Regions from separate parts of the Homo sapiens genome. Here region 1 is linked to region 2. Evidence: promoter capture Hi-C in human tissues and cell types (Jung and others, 2019). All regions are on one chromosome and are shown on one strand. Each heading gives the region's core, a stretch centred on a gene start or on the middle of the fragment in contact. The rest is flanking DNA. Distances are from core to core; before and after follow the strand shown.

Region 1 (2,700 bases), core at 114-2,613, 76 kb before region 2:
AGCCTTGAACTTCTGGGCTCAAGTGATCCTCCCGCCTCAGCCTCCCAAGTATCTGGGACTACAGGCGTGTGCCACCACTCCTGGCTTATTTAAAAAAGCACTGGGATTACAGGCATGAGCCTCCATGCACAGCTGTGGGAAGAGTTCTGATACAAATTCAATTTCTTGCCGGGCACAGTGGCTCACGCCTGTAATCCCAGCACTTTGGGAGGCCAAGGCAGGTGGATCACCCGAGGTCTGGAGTTTGAGACCACCTTGACCAACATGGAGAAACACTGTCTCTACTAAAAATACAAAATTAGCCGGGCGTGGTGGCACATGCTTGTAATCCCAGCTACTCGGGAGGCTGAGGCAGGAGAATCACTTGAACCAGGGAGGCAGAGGTTGCTGTGAGCCAAGATCGCGCCGTTGCACTACAGCCTGGGCAACAAGAGCAAAACTCCGTCTCAAAAAAAAAAAAAAAATTCAATTTCTTTTCATACATAAGACTATTCAGATTATATATTTCTTCTTGGGAAAGCTTTGGTAGTTTGTGTTTTTCAATAAATTTGTTAATGTATTCCATAGTGTTGAGTTTATTTGCATATAGTTGTTCCTAATATTTCCTTAGTATCTTCTTTTTAATGTCTATATGATCTGTAGTGATGTTCATTCATTCCTGATAATGGTAATTTGTGTTTTTTCTTTTTTTCTTGATCAGTCTGCCTTTTAAAAAACTGGCTGTTCTTAAAACTGGCTGGTTTCATTTTCTGTATTGTTTACACATTTTCTATTTCAGTAATTTTCACTCATCTATATTATTTCCTTCCTTCTGCTTACTTTGGGTTTAATTTGCTCTTTTATTTTTTTCTAACTTCTTAAGGTGCAAGCTTAAAGTGTTGCTGCCAGACCTTTCTTCTCTTCTAATGTAAGTATTTGATGCTATAATGTCCCTGTGAGCACTTCCTTAACTGCATTTACACTTTGTGACATGTGGTATTGTTCAATTTCCTTTAGTTCAAAATATTTTCTAATTTTCTTCATGCTTTCTTATTTGATCTACGGGTTAAGTTTGTGTTGTTTCATTTCCAGATGTTTTGGCTATTGTTGTTATTGATTTTCAGTTTACTTCTGTTCTGGTCAGGGAACATAATTTATATAATTTCAATCCTTCTCAATTTATTGAGAATTAATTTATGGCTCAGATTATGGTCTATTTTGGTGAATGTTCCATGTACACTTGAAAAGAATGTGGACTCCGCTATTGCTGAGTGGAATATCTGTAAAGATCGATAAGGTCAAAGTATTTGATGTTGTTCAAATCTTCTGTATACTTACTGATTTTCTTTTTACTTCTTCTATCAGTTACCAAGTGAAGAATGTTGAAATATCCAACTATAATTTGTGGATTTCTCCTTTCAATGCTATCATTTTTGGTGCTTCATGTATTTTTGAAGCTCTATTATTAGGTATGTACCACATTTAGGATTGATATATTTTCTTAGTGAAATGACCCCTTTGTCATTATGTAATGCTCTTCTTTGTCCATGGCTATAGTCCTTGTTCTAAAGCGTAACTTATTTTCTAATATATATATATATATATATATATATATATACATATATATACTAGAATATATATACAATAGATTATGTATCTATATTCTATATATGTATATATATACTAGTATGTATATGTGTGTGTGTGTGTGTGTGTGTGTGTGTGTATATATATATATATATATATATATATATATATATATATATATGGCCAGCGTGGTGGCTCATGCCTGTAATCCCAGCACTTTGGGAGGCCGAGGTGGGCAGATCTTTTGAGTCCAGGAGTTTGAGACAGACTGGCCAACATGGCAAAACCCCACCTCTACTAAAGTATACAAATTATGCCAGACGCGGTGGCTCACACCTGTAATCACAGCAGTTTAGGAGGCCGAGGCGGGTGGATCACTTGAGGTCAGCAGTTTGAGACCAGCCTGGCCAACATGGTGAAACCTCATCTCTACTAAAAATACAAAAATTAGCCTGGTGTGGTGGTGCATGCCTGTAATCCCAGCTACTCTGGAGACTGAGGCAGGAGAATTGCATGAACCCAGGAGGCAGAGGTTGCAGTGAGCCGAGATGGCACCATTGCACTCCAGCAATAGAGCGAGACTCTGTCTCAAAAAATAAAAATAAAAATAAAAAAATAACCGGGCGTGGTGGCGTGTGCCTGTAATCCCAGCCTCTGAGGAGGCTGAGGCACAAGAATCTCTTGAACCTGGGAGGTGAAGGTTGCAGTGAGCCATGATCACCACCACTGCACTCCAACCTGGGCAACAGAGATCCTGTCTCAAAAAAATATATATATATATCATATTAATATAGTCACTCAAACTTTTTTTTGATGTGAATGGGAATTTTTATCCTTTTATTGTTGATCTATCTGTGTCTCTATATTTAAAAGCGATTTATTGTGGGCAGAATATGGTTGAGTCTTGTGTTTGTTTGTTTGTTTGTTTGTTTTTGAGATGGAGTCTTGCTCTGTCACCCAGGCTGGAGTACAGTGGTGCAATCTCGGCTCACTGCAAGCTCCGCCTCCCGGGTTCATGCGGTTCTCCAGCCTCAGCCTCCTGAGTAGCTAGGACTACAGGCGAGTCTTGTGTTTTTATTCAGTCTGACAATCTCTACTCTTATATTGATATTTAAACCTATTGACTTGGTTAAG
Region 2 (2,700 bases), core at 201-2,700:
ATACCCACACACCACACACAGTCAGGCCTTTGCCCACCATCACATACGTCCAGTCTTCATGCATTTCCAGACTCTTGGCCACTCTTTTAGATTCTACAGGCAAATTCTGGAAACACGTTTCTGCCCCCACTCCCAATACATGCGCATACACACACACACACACACATTAACCCATCCCAGTGCACACACATATGTCACGGCTGCAGGAAACCTAAATTTTTCTTTGGAAATTGGAAAACTCATCTAATAGAAAGTGAGAGGTTGTATTCTCTACAGTACATCCAATACCTTTTTACCCATCTCCCACACCCACTCCCCACGCACCGAATTGAGAGTTATTTAGCTTTTGTGTAGAATTAGTTTGGAATTGTGCTGGGTAGGGACACCCTGATCCCCACTCAACAGCAAAGAGATCTAAACCTCTCAGACATGTTGAAAGGCTGGTCCCAGGGCCTCCTGGAGAAGTGAGGTGGCCTTCAGGCTTCAGATAGCACCCAGCTCAGGCCCCTCACACTGACCTCCATCCAGGCCCTCCAGCTACTCAGACCTCCTTCAGAGTCCTAATAACCAAGGGAGGAGCACCAAGCTCATCCTCACCAGCTCCAAGTCTCCCTCCTCCTCCTCCCAGGGAAATGCCATTGGGACCCACAACCCCAGGCTCAGAGACAAGGGGACCCAGGGTAATAGAGGTACCTGCAAATGCTGCCTTCCAAAAGGGACCTGGTGGGTTCTGTTCTCCCTGGCAACACATCTGGCTGTTCCAGCCACCAGCGAGAGCCCAAGACTGGTAACTGTCCACAGGCAACAGGGAGTCATGTCGCGGTTCTCCAGGAGCACCCAGAGTCTGCACCACAGACACGTCCAGGTAACTGGCCATAGGCTGGTAGGTTCCCGGATATCCCGGATAGAAGGCAAACTCAGTGGGGCGGCTGGGGTACTCTTCCCCGGCCGTGGGAGTCTCCGCGGGGTACGCGGCCAGGGTGGCTGCCTGGGCACAGGGTTTCAGCGAGCTCCGGGACACTCGGCAGGAGTAGTACCCGCCTCCAAAGTAACCATAAGGCACGGGAGCTGGGGACGTCCCCTGGGGCACCCCAGGGCATGGGTGGCATTGCTTTGGCGGCTCCGCCGAGCCTGGCAGATCCAAGGGGGCATAGTTGACAGCAGGCATCAGCGTAGGCGCCGCTGGGTGGCTGGTCAGAGGGGAGTGGGCGACCAGATTCCGCCCCCCTCCCGCTCCCAGCAAGCCTTCGATATCCTTGGCTCCATCCAAGGTGGCATAATTGCCGGGCTCCATGGAGCCGAGGGTCGGCTCATGAGGTGCGGGGGCGGGGAATCTAGGGGGCACCCAGCTCGCTCTCCCCACCCAGGCCGGGGGAATCCAAAGCGTTTTAAATCGCTCCCAGCTCGCAAGTCGCCTGCATTCGCTCAGCACGGCCGTCTTGACGCAAGAGACGCAGGGGCCCGGGCACGCGCGCTGATTGGCTGCGGCCTGGGGGAGAGAAGCTAATAAAATCCTAAAGGCAGAAACTGCGAAAATACTTTACCCCAGCTTATTCTCTCTCTCTCTCTCTCTCTTTCTCTCTCTCTCTCTCTCTCTCTCTCTCTCTGTCTCTGTCTCTCTCTCTCGCTCTCTCGCTCTTTCTCTCCTCTCTCTCTTCTCCCTCTCTCTCTTCTTTTCCCTCTCCACTCCTCTCTCTCTCATTCCACTTAAAAACAACAAGAGAGAAAAGGAAGGAGGTGTCCTTTCGCTGCTTTCCAGTTTGCAGAGTCTCATTTACACGTCCGGGGGGAGGGGAGGCGTGGTGGGCGGAGGAAGAGGGGACGAGGAGCCGGGCCCCACCTCCTTCTCCTCCTCTCCCTCCCTAGCTTTCTGTCTCCTGCGCTTTGACAGGTTTAACGAGAGAATAAAAAGCTCTCTCTATAAAGTGTCCATCTCCTGGGGGGGAAGGGGAGTCGGGGGTGGGGCTGGGAGGCCGCTCCCGGCCTCAGAGGAGAACCCGGGAATGCGCCTGTGTAAGAGGAGGCTGGGAAATGGGGGTTAATAGGTATTTCTGGCAGCCCCTGGCTTTGGGTCCTGGGTACTAGCACCCCAGTTCATTCCCGGTACCCTTCCTGTCCCAGATGTCCTGGAATGAGCTGCTCCGGGCCCCAGGGAGGTGCCCTGGACGCCCCTTACCCAGGGACTCGCTACTGCCCAGAATGCTCTGGAGGCCCTGATTCGGGTGAGGCTGAGGGAAGAGGCGGGAGACACGAACGTAGACGTAGAAGACATGCGATCTGGATGGAACCCAGGACACTCCACTTCCGGACCTGAAGGGGAAATGGAGCCTCTAGAGTGGCCTGTGGAAGGGTCTGGATTTCCCTTTAAGTAAAGACATACGGAGGGACGGAGACCCACAGGACTTGAGGGAGGGACGGGGAGAGGGAGAGATGAGACTCAGGGACAGCAACACAAAGAGGGAAAGAGAGAAGCTGACAGAGCGGATGGGACAAAATCTTGTAAAATCCTGAAGTGTCAGTCAGAAAAGAGAAAGAAGAGAGGCACTTTCCCCCTTTTTTGGGATCTAAAGAAGTCTGAGGAAGCCAAGCCTGGCTGACTGCCAGAAACCAGCTGCGGGAGTTCTGGACCCCAAGAATACAGACGCCTGTGTGGAGATGCCAGTCTCCCTGCCCTGCAGTCCTCTCCCTATGGTCTGCAAG

The links. Contacts are between HindIII fragments. The study calls those that stand out against the background at their distance.
Region 1: a fragment that was not itself captured here is called in contact with the fragment with the promoter of HOXB13 in region 2 in 2 of the 25 tissues and cell types used here (H1 embryonic stem cells and lymphoblastoid cells).

What each region holds. Positions count from the first base shown.
Region 1 is chr17:48,651,527-48,654,226 of GRCh38, forward strand. LINC02086 (long intergenic non-protein coding RNA 2086) reads left to right here. Exons shown (of 8, transcript NR_189645.1): 2 at 863-907; 3 at 1,345-1,448. Among named protein-coding and RNA genes, the nearest start is that of LINC03057, 6.0 kb to the left of the region's middle. The HindIII fragment of the contact is 3,865 bases long and covers 1-2,700 here.
Region 2 is chr17:48,727,300-48,729,999 of GRCh38, forward strand. HOXB13 (homeobox B13) reads right to left here and starts at 1,451. Exons shown (of 2, transcript NM_006361.6): 1 at 694-1,451. The coding sequence starts at 1,294. The HindIII fragment of the contact is 5,391 bases long and covers 936-2,700 here.